Linked DNA regions of Homo sapiens: region 2 is linked to region 1. The links are contacts of gene promoters, found by promoter capture Hi-C in blood cells and fetal thymus (Javierre and others, 2016). All regions are on one chromosome and are shown on one strand. Each heading gives the region's core, a stretch centred on a gene start or on the middle of the fragment in contact. The rest is flanking DNA. Distances are from core to core; before and after follow the strand shown. Region 1 holds the start of CRYZ (crystallin zeta). Region 2 overlaps LOC105378797 (a long non-coding RNA gene).

Region 1 (5,763 bases), core at 1,310-3,809:
TCCTGTAATACCGGATTTCTTCTAAAAAGCATAAGTCTTCCACCTCCATTGACTTAACTGTTTTCAGAACAGGTAGAGAAGTTATTTAAACTATTATTTTATGCAGAAGTAAAAATAAAATCGCCATCCATTTTATGGATGAGAAAACATCACAAGAGGTTAAGAGACTTGGTCAGGGTCACACAGAAGCAAAGCTAGAACCCAAGTCCTGTAATTAAATGGTGTTAGCTGATTTTTTTCTTTACCATCCTTTTCATCTCACCCTTTGAGATGCTGGCATATAAGACCCTTTACTTCGTAGAAATAAACTTTACAATAGTGATAGTGAGACAGATTGAGCTAGAAAATGTGAAATCAAACTAACCTGCAGGTAGAATCGCATATTTTATGACTAAGGCATCTGCTTAGAGTTTGAAATTTCTCAAATGCCCACTAAGTCAGGGAATGCAGCAGAAATACAAAGGACATGATTCTATTTTTAAAAATGTATAAAAAAAAATTACTCCCTAGCATCGGATCCTTGTGAACAGGACAGGCCTTTCCATTGCTTGTGCTTTTTAATTAAACTATACTTCAAATAGGCCTTCCTGTTTATCAAATATAAACTTTTAAAAATTAAGAGTCCCTTGGTTTAATTTTTGGTTTAATTTTACCTCTGAAAGGTTGCCAATATGCCTTACAAATCTAGGAAATAGAAAATCTAAAATCCCTCTTCCAACAGTGATCTTTTTCCTGGCTATGCTTGTATCCATTTGATTTAAACGAAAATTAAAGGAATTGGGAAAATGTTAGGAGTATATTTTAACATAGGATGAACAGATCAAGTCACAAAGCCAGAGCAAAGGAACATTATGAGACAAGAGCAAAAGTAAAATTAAATAAGAATTCTGGCAAGAATTTTAAAAACTGAAAACTTAGAAAAAAAATCAATCATTACAAATTGTTCTGCTGCTAATACACAATGACTCATGTAAGCATATGGTTTATTATTAACCCAGAAATGTAAAAAAGGCAAGAATTACAAGTGGTCAGAGAAAGTCTCTTCCTGGCTGTGTGATCTTATCAGGTCACTTCTGTTCACTTGAGATAGGACGGGGTAAGAAGAGGGGAGGAGTTTAATAATTTCGGACTCCTCCAGGTTCCATGATCGTATGGAACAGGGCAGTCTGTTCCCTAATGCTGGAGGAGTAGAGCTTGGAGAGATTTGCTGCTGAACTCGCTGCGCTAACCAGACACGTAATCACAGTGGCTTCAGAGGGACTCGCACAACAATTTCCATTAGCTACGGACAAGCATTCCAAACTTTAGCCTTTAGGTTTAATCATTGACACACCTTCCCTGGTCACTGAGTCTCCTCTAGAAACTCAGTATAAACATCCAACGATGTGTTAACAGGGTGTTTTGTAATTTTCTTTTGAAGATTATTCTAGGTGGTGGGCGTCACAGGGTCAATAAAACTATACATTTCTCTCAAAGACTGCAATCCTGATGGCAAAGCTGGAGGAAGCTCCGGGAAACCTGTAATTGTGGGAATCCAAGACAAAAAATCCCCCACAGCTGGGCTGTGGGAAGGGGCCCTACCTAGGAGAAGAAATCAAATCCCCTACAGCTGGGCTGTGCGAAGGGGCACTACCTAGGAGAAGAAATCCCCTACAGCTGGGCTGTGGGAAGGAGCCCTACCTAGGAGAAATCCCCTACAGCTGACAGGTGGGCTGTGGGAAGGGGCCCTACCTAGGAGAAGAAATCAAATCCCCTACAGCTGGGCTGTGCGAAGGGGCACTACCTAGGAGAAGAAATCCCCCACAGCTGGGCTGTGGGAAGGAGCCCTACCTAGGAGAAATCCCCTACAGCTGACAGGTGGGCTGTGGGAAGGGGCCCTACCTAGGAGAAGAAATCAAATCCCTACAGCTGGGCTGTGCGAAGGGGCCCTACCTAGGAGAAGAAATCCCCTACAGCTGGGCTGTGGGAAGGGGCCCTACCTAGGACAAATCCTCTACAGCTGAGAGCTGGGCTGTGGGAAGGGGCCCTGGACAGACCGCTGGGCGCTGCTGCAGGAATCCCCAAACCCAGGCACTGGCTGCAGGGAAAAATCAAGCGGGTGACTGGCGGGGGGGGGGGGGGGGGGTGCAGCGTGGGGCTGGGGGACAGGGAGTGCGGGGGGCGGAGGCTGGGCAGGGGTAGTGCCAACGGACACCTCATGGTGTGGTAGCCTAAACTCAGAGCCTAAACGCAGGACCAGGGCTAGGAGCCCAGGACCAGAAGGCAAAACTTCCTACCTGATTTATGGATGGGAACTTGCAGCCCCTGGAGGGGAATGGCTTCGGTCTGGAGCTCTACGCACTAGTTCTCTGGGAGGACAGAGGGCAGGAAAGGGGTGCAGCCAAAATCAAACTCGGTTCCACTTGGACGAGCAGTGGGGAGATTCGCTGTCTAAACAACTAAGGAGAGTTTTTAAAACCACTTACCAGAATCTAGAGTGGGAATTAAAATCTGCGTGGGCTTCTTCAGATTCCACAGAAATGAGGACTGCCACACCTTCTCCAACTTTTGCAGGCTCCACCCAGGATGTGCGCCTCGCTCCACCCAGGATGTGCGCCTCTCTCCACCCCTAGGCGAAGGCACTAGAATTTCCCAAATTAAGAACGAAGAGGAAGTTTGGACCTTTTCGGCCACCGCTCGCTTCAATATGGCTGCCCCCAGGGAGAGACGAGGCTACCATGAAGGAGCCGAGCGCAGACCCTGAGTCCGTCACCCATGGATCGCAGCGCGGAGTTCAGGAAATGGAAGGCGCAATGTTTGAGCAAAGCGGACCTCAGCCGGAAGGGCAGTGTTGACGAGGATGTGGTAGAGCTTGTGCAGTTTCTGAACATGCGAGATCAGTTTTTCACCACCAGCTCCTGCGCTGGCCGCATCCTACTCCTTGACCGGGTGAGGCCCCTTTGCGCCTGTCCATCGCCTGCCTTCTAGTGCGAAACTTCAGGAGCCCTGTTCCCATCCAGTGACGACCGGATCCAGCATGTCTGTGTTTGCTCCTCTGAGGGGTGGTCTCTGTTTCTTTATATGTGAAATTTAGGGGATTAGATCAGTGCTTCTAAAAGTTTAACGTGGCTATTAATCAGCTGAGCATCTTTTAAAATACAGATCCCGATTCTTTAAGTGTAGGGTAGGGCCTGATACTGTGCATTTCTAACAAGTGCCCAAATGATGTTGAAACTGCTGACCTGGGAACTATCTTGTGTGGCAAAGTTTAGAAAATTTGATTTTATTATATGAATACTAAGGGAATCTAAAGACTTTGTAGCTTGCTAAGGTATTGAATGCCGGAATCCGCTCATCAACAGCTCTGGCAAATCATTGTTACTGCATGCTTGAACATCACCAGTGTTAAGGAGTTTACTGCCTCCTAGTGAGCCCCTCCATTATTACAACTCTAGTAGTTTTACGCAGAGAAAAGTACGATCGTATATAATTTAGGATGGTTAGACTTTTTTTTTTAACTTTATGATGGGTTTACAGGGGTAGTAAATGCATTTTGACTTACATTTTCCACTTATGACGGATTTATTGGGATGTAACCCCATCATAAATCAAGAAGCAGCTGTACAAGCCATACCTCCTTATTTGCAGGTTCAGTTACCCCAGTCAACAGCAGTCTGAAAATATTAAATGAAAATTCCAGAAATAAACAATTAGTAAGTTTTAAATTGCATGCTGTTCTGAGTAGCGTGATAAAATCTTGAGCCAACCAGCTCCTTCCAGAATGGAAGGTGAATCATCCCTTTGTCCAGAATATTCCACTATATATTCTTGCTGCCCTTTAGCTGCTTGGTAGCCTTCTGGGTTATCAGATCGACTGTGGTGGTATCACAGTGCTTGTGTTCAAGTAACTCTTATTTTACTTAATAATGGCCCCAAAGTACGGGAGTAATGATGCTGGCGATTTGGATCTGCCAACAGTAAGTTTTAAAGTGCTTTTTTGAAGTGAAAAGGTGAAAGTTCTTAAGGAAAGACTTAAGGAAAGAAAAAACAGCATATGCTGAGGTTGCTAAGATCTACGGAAAGAATGAATCTTGTCAGTGAAATTGTGAAGTGAAGAAGGAAAAAGAAATTGATCTGAGGTTTCAGGCATCCACTAGGGGGTCTTGGGACATATCCCCTGAGGATAAGGCTGCTTGGGAGTGATACTGCTTAGATTAAAAACCACGGGCTATGTGACCTTAGGAAAGCTATCTCAACTCTGCCCCTTCCTGTTCTATGAACTGAGGATAATAAAAAGTATCTGCTTTATAGGGATTTTGTGTGGAGAAAATAGGATAATTTTTTTTGAAATATTTGGCTTTGTGCCTGGCCCATGCACTGTAAAAGTTGGCTGTGTACTGATTTTATTCGTAGTATTGGCTTAAGAGCATGGAAGACAGCACATTGTTAGGCTCATTCTTTAGGTCCATTATTGACTGATCATTTATTTGCTGATCTCTCAAGTTAGCAGGGCCTGTTCATTTTTAAATCACTTCCATCACCTTCAGAGCAATGGCATTCTTGCCCACAAACTCTCTCTTGCCCCATTTCCATAACTCTGTCTCGCCTTGATTTTTGCAATGGTTCTCTAACAAGCCACTTAACTATTCTTCTCCAAACCATGTTTGACAAATTGCAACTCTGCTTATCTCTCACCTATGCTATGTTTTATTACACATTTTTCTACATCAGAAAATCCAAATGCTTACTCTAGTATACCTTTCAACCTTTTTTTCATTGCTTTTCTTCATCTTTAGCTAGTTACTGAAACTAAACTGTTCTTTTCATCTTGTATTTACTTGCTTTTGCTCATGTTTTTTGGCGGTTTTTTTCCTGAAATGTTTTCCTATCTCTGCATATCTGAGACATGATTCCCAAAACTCCCCTCTCCCACCTGAACCCACAAACACATACTACCTACTTGGAAGTAATGACTGCTTCTGTACTGGTTAGACTTTTATTTCTTATCTTACACCTCGTATTATGGTTTATTTTAAAATCTGCCTTATTTCAGTAAGGATTTGGGGCAACTTACAAACAGGCAACACAAGAAAAAATAAAAAGTGGGAAAATCTGGATAAAGAAAATATAGATAAGATGAAGCCAGCGATGGCATTAGTTGCCAATCCCACCACTAGATCCTGTAAAGTTGCTAGAAGTGGGCCATACATTTGGCTCTAAGATTCAGAGTAGCCAGCACAATGTCAGATACGTAAGTCACCATCACCGAAGTCATACAATGAAGTCAAAATATTTATTTAGGACATGCATAGCAATTCCCGGTTCCAAGGGCAGACAGCAGAGTCTCTTGTGGATCCATCGTATAAATTATAGTTACTTTGAGTATAGTGATTTCTGTTCATGTGGTTTCCTGCATCCCCTTTCCAGTGTCCTTGAGGGGTAGGTTCTGTGTATACCCAAAGTACCTAATAGAACTTTGCAAATAAACATTTGTTCAATTTAAGTTAATATTAAAATGTTTGCCTTCATGAAACTTTGACCTTTCAGTCTTAGCTCCATCCTTCAGGACTACATCTAAAGTCTAATTCAGAGGTCACAAATTTATGCCTCTAGAGACCAAGGAAGTATTATAAATGTGTAAACGGCATAGGTGACAATAAAGGGTAGTAGGTCTTGTGTGGAATTGGGACAGTGCTGTCCTACAAAAGAAATTAAAATTATTTTTTTTTCATTTTTAAATACTGTGCTAGCCAAATAGCTAGAGTACAACTCAGGTGCTGCTAG
Region 2 (5,490 bases), core at 1,600-4,099, 2.4 Mb before region 1:
TTGCAGGACGCCCCTCTTTTATCTGTGGGTGTTGACACTAAGTTGTGTGTGTGAGTAGGGGATTGTTTATGGTCAACATGGAGTGTGTGTGTGATAGAGAGCGTGTCGTGCGCGCGGGGGCCTGTGCACGCGCGGCACGCAGGCGCGCTGGGAGGGACGGGGCGGGTCATGCTGGGATGTAGAGTCGGGAAAAGACTGCAATCAAGTGTTTTAATTGTGTAGAGCCCAGGCGGTCCAGTTATGTAAGAGGCAGTTTAACCCATTTGAGCCTATCAGGCCGAATAATCGGCGCATCCGAGTCAAGGCAGGGCAGAGTTAAGGGGTTTAACGAGTCGCAGGGTTGTATTTCTTAACAGCCTCCACACCGCGTTAACAGGCTTGCTCCTCCGCGGTGCAGAGCGGTAACCTCCGCTTCCCCACGCAGCAGCCCCTCCGCAGCTCGCCGGGCTGTTTTCAGCCCTGCCCTGGCCCAAGGCAGAAGGAGATACTAGGCGTGGGGCCACCCCTACTCTTTTTTCTTCTTTCCTTCTTGAACTCATTTCCAGATTCAAGATCCTTAAGCTTTTCCGGGCCATTTGCAAATCAATGCGAGAACCGAGGCTGAGTCGTTAGCAGTTACACCAATCAATCTTGTTCAGCGAGGAGTTTGGGAAGCAGAGCGGGGAAGTGAAAATGGAAAATAAGTAATTAAAAAATAAGCTCCCTCCCCCTCACACACTTTTTCCCTTCCTCCACCCCATCCCCCTTTAGCAGTGTTTGAAGAAGATATTCTTTGCCAGATCCCAGTTCTTCTTTTGGAGGAAATGAAGCAAAACCTCACACGTCCGTAACTCGTTTTCCATAATGCTAGCAGGGTCATTTGGCAAAGCGCACCGAAGCAAGACTCTCTGCAGGGGTCAGCATCCGGCTGCCTCCGCAGACTGAGCTCTTTACGAGGCAGGCAGGGAGTCGTTTTGCTTGGTGGTAGCAGTGTTCAGAGTGATTTTTATCGCCATGCACGGGGATATATGGGGAAAGGGAAGGGTTCCCATCACCTGTGACCACCCAGACTGGCTTACAGACGAATCCTTAACTAGCAACACCTCCCTGCTGAACTGGCACTCCAAGGCTGGGCAGCTAACGGAGACATTTGCGTCAGGAGTCACTGATGTTAGTATTCTGCCTTAACTCTCAAAACCGACTCGGAAACTGAGAGTGCAATAGTTTCAACCGCATTTTGAAACATCAATAAAATGTTAGTCATTTGCGGATGAATGAAAACATTTTCTTTACCGTCTGGTATGCTAGGGAAATAATTGTGAAATGACAGACTCTCACTAATATCGATGCCAAATACCTAAGTAACACTGTCATCTTGTTAACTGCATTTTTCTATCTTGCGTGGCACGCTGATGGATAAAGCGTAAAATTATCTAGGGCAAACGGGGGATTAGAAGACTTGACATGTCACATACATGGGCAAAGCTATGCAGTATTATTTAGCATTTCAGTAGAAACGAGCTAGATTCTATTGAAGAGACACAGAAGGTATAGCTTCCTGCATTGTGACTCAGTTTAGTGCTATTTTAAGCAGGGATGGGGGTGCCAGTGTTTTCTAGTACAAGCTATGAAAAGCATCCTTTTCTGACTGCTGTTTCCCAGAGATCTGACATCTTCAGTGTCCACGGGGGTGGGTTGGGGGTGGTAGGAGGAGGGTTTTCTTTGACCAGGGATGGAGCTATGCTGCAGTTTTAATATGTACAACAACCCTTCAGGCTTGTAAACGGAAACTGGAGCCACTTCTTTTAAAGACAGTTTCCTTTCCTTATTTCTAGTTTTTTATCTCAACTACCATTCACAGATCACACTTAACTCTTGGAGAACCCATCTAAAGAAAGCAATGACTGAACTTAGTGTATAGATGTCTGGATTATGGGGGAAAGTATTTACAGGTACGTCACTATTATTTACAGCAAGTGCAAGAATGTCAGGTAGGGCAGCCTCTCCAGACCCTTATACTTCTAGTCTTCTGACTAAAGAAAATGAATTTAAAAGCTTTTATGACTTCCTATTCCCTAAACCTTTCTAAGGGCAAAACATCTGACAGGCTTTTACGTGGTTTCTAATATTTGCTTTTGAAGTCCTGGAATTCTTACAAACAGAGACTTAAATTCGGATTGTCTTGGCTCTTTTTGAGGGAAAATCGAAACAAAACCAAACAACAACCAAATGAGAAAAAAAAGCTTAAATAGCAAATAGTTCCTTAGTAGAATTTTTTGAAATAGAAGAATTAGTAATAGCATTGTTTAGAACATTTTAGAGGCAAATAGTGGAGTGGGTATAATGGGTTACTCCTTTGGTTAGAATTTTAAGGAAGTGACATTGGAATTAATTATTATTTCTTTATAATGATGTACCTTTTTTCGCTTTAAAAGCTCAACTTCTAGTATTTCAAGAAATGTAATAATCAGTAGGGAGTTAGTATAAAAGGAGAAAGGTGGAGCCTGATTATGATTGCAGATTATTTCATTATCTAGATTGATTCCACTCCTGCCTTTCATGCCCTATGACCTGTATTTTGAATCCCTAAGGATGTTGGAAAGAGTAATGTTATATAAGGAAGCTTCTTAAGATTGCTTACTTTAATAAACTCGATTTTTATTCAACAGTGTAACTGTGATTGTTAGAATGGAAAAAAATAGAAGTTTACATTTGTTTATTAGTAGTGAATGAGTAAAGCCAGCTTCATCTTTCATGTTATTTTGTTTTAATACTTTGAGATCTAGGGTACATGTGCACAACGCGCAGGTTTGTTACATATGTATACATGTGCCATGTTGGTGTGCTGCACCCATTAACTCATTATTTACATTAGGTATATCTCCTAATGCTATCCCTCCCCCCTCCCCCCTCCCCCACCCCACGACAGACCATGTTATTACTGTGTGAGCATGAGAAGTTTTAGCCAAGACGGGTCCCAGGACCTAATGGAAAGAGCTAATGAGATCACTTTGTATTTCCTGAAGGAGGCAGTCAGGAAGCCCTTATAAACTGTACCTCTGAATAATAGCGCTCTAACTTGGTCCATAATTGATTCTCTATTTGAATTAAGCTGCCTTAAGCTTGGAGTACCTTGCCAACTAAAACTGACGTATACTGATGAATTTCAGGTCAGGGTGAGAAATATAGAGTTCCAGAAATTTGTTGGTGGAGGGGAATCTTCCACTACAGAAGTGTTTCTCAATCTAGGCCCTTTTGACATTTTGGTGCAGGTAATTTGTGTGTGTGTGTGTGTGTGTGTGTGTGTGTGTGGAGCATGGGGACTTCTGTGTGCCTTGGAAAATGTTTATCAGCATCCCTGGCCTCTATCCAGTAGATGCCAATAGTTGTGATACCCAGAATTTCTCCAGGCATTGTTAAATGTCCTGTGGATTGGAAAGGGGATTACTCCAAGTTGAGAACCACTTCATTGTAAGTTATATTTCTAAAATATATACCATCTTGTGTTTTTCAAATAAAATAATAAAGCAGATTTTTTTGTCAAAAGTATCTCATTTGGATTCTATAGCTACAAAAAGAGCTCCTTCTCATCAGTTCAATCTCTACATTTACTTGCCATGTGGTTGAGTAGCCCAGGTTACCACAGATGCAATGAATTTAATGGCTGACGGCAACAAAATACTTTCTAGGATTTCTTCCTAAATTGTAGGAGACTTGCTCAAATAACATTACAATTATACACTAACAAAGGTCTTCTATATTGTTGTAATGTATAGTTTGGTTATAAATGTTATTGTAAAGTAGGCGAGAGGGGGTCTTTTATTTAAGCAAGTATTGAACTAATAGTTCTTTGAAAGGAAATTGTCATTTTATGTTGTTTTTTCCAAAATAAAAGTGTAAGTAAATGGTGAGCTTATTTTGGGCAATAACCCATGTAAATATTTGCCTTCTTTATATTGTGACAGCTACATATTATTCACTCTGGAAATGGCTATTGCATAAAGAAGAAGAAAAAAGCAAAAAGTTATTTGCCTATTGGGTCATTCTATTTAAATATCATATATTTATTCAGTTATAATTTATTTAGCATCTTATCTATTCACCATCAGCATTGGGGGTAAGCAAAGAAGTTAGAAGCGTATATGTGTGTTTGTATGTTTGGAGGAGTGCGGAGATACCTACTCTACTTTCAGAGCTCTTCAAGCCATTTCCATAGAATGGCCCTGAAAATTTCACCTAAGTACTTAAACAAGAAAGAACAGTGTTACAATAGATATGGGTAGAAATCATTTTCAAATAACTGAAGTTTCTACCTTTCTACTTGTAAGAAAACAAGTACAGCTTTAACTATATTTCATTATATAATTTACAGTGGGTTCCAGGAAAACCAATAATTATTATTTAAGATTTTTTCTCACATATTTCTAAGAAACTCAAACACCTCTGTTCAAAAATAAACATCAAATTTTATACTTTATACTGAACTATGATGAATGTAAGATCTTTTTTTTTTCAGGATTGAGAAGGTGGCATTTTATTTTAATTTTCTTTTTTATTATTATTATACTTTAAGTTTTAGGGTACATGTGCACATTGTGCAGGTTAGTTACATATGTATAGCATTGGGAGATATACCTAATGCTAGATGACGAGTTAGTGGGTGCAGCGTACCAGCATGGCACATGTATACATATGAATGTAAGATCTTACCCTCCAAAAGAATTATTCTGTTTTATTTTATTATGTAATTTATTTAATTTCCTAAAAGGTTCTGATTTTTATTGCAGAGGTGTTTATCTTGTATATTTTCAGACTCTACTATGACTTGTTAATTTTGTCCCTTTAGCATTTTATATTTTTTTCTATAATTGATATATGTGTGTCTGTGTATATGTGTGTGCCTGTATAAATGGGAAGTACCTCACTGTGTAAACTTATGAAGACATCTTGACTAGAATTTGTAATTTTTAATTTGTGATAATTTTTACTGTTAATATAGTTTTCTTAACACAAGATTGTGAAAACATAGCTTTAAAACATAGCCCTAAGGAGAAAGAAAACTATTGCCACTTCACTCCATGTTCACTTCTAGCAACTATTGAGATTTTTATTGCTCTTGTTGTAAGTTATGATATTCATGGGTAAGTAAATCATTGGTTTTTCTTAAGATGAGAAAAAGTCAGCCGGGTTTGAAGTGGAATAATTTTAAAGGACTATATCAAATACCTTTCCAAATTTATAACAGTCACCCATGTTTATGACATTTAATTTTTTTTGTTCTGAAATACACATTTTTAACAATATACTTTTAGAAAAGTGCATAGAATGTGAAGGTACAGATTAGTGAAGCACTATTTTAAAGTTAACATCCATTTCATTCCACAGTGATTAAGAAACAGAAAATTACCAACACTCCAAATGCCTTCTGCAAGCCTTTTTAAAATTATAACCCCCATTTTCTTCCTTAAAAGTAACCACTGTAATTATTTCACCATCATCATTTCCTCATTT

Evidence for each region. The method cuts DNA at HindIII sites, captures the fragments that hold promoters and counts their contacts. A CHiCAGO score of 5 or more calls a contact.
Region 2: a contact is called between a fragment that was not itself captured here and the fragment with the promoter of CRYZ in region 1, in 1 of 17 cell types (total B cells). The highest score is 6.4, in total B cells.

What each region holds. Positions count from the first base shown.
Region 1 is chr1:74,730,491-74,736,253 of GRCh38, forward strand. CRYZ (crystallin zeta) reads right to left here and starts at 2,560. Exons shown (of 9, transcript NM_001889.4): 1 at 2,466-2,560. TYW3 (tRNA-yW synthesizing protein 3 homolog) reads left to right here and starts at 2,662. Exons shown (of 6, transcript NM_138467.3): 1 at 2,662-2,928. The coding sequence starts at 2,755. RefSeq lists enhancers at 1,357-1,646, 2,242-2,952, 2,507-2,796, 3,177-3,276. The HindIII fragment of the contact is 10,326 bases long and covers 1-5,763 here.
Region 2 is chr1:72,283,609-72,289,098 of GRCh38, forward strand. The region is part of intron 1 of LOC105378797 (a long non-coding RNA gene); the gene reads left to right. Among named protein-coding and RNA genes, the nearest start is that of NEGR1, 3.8 kb to the left of the region's middle. RefSeq lists an enhancer at 749-1,948. The HindIII fragment of the contact is 499 bases long and covers 2,601-3,099 here.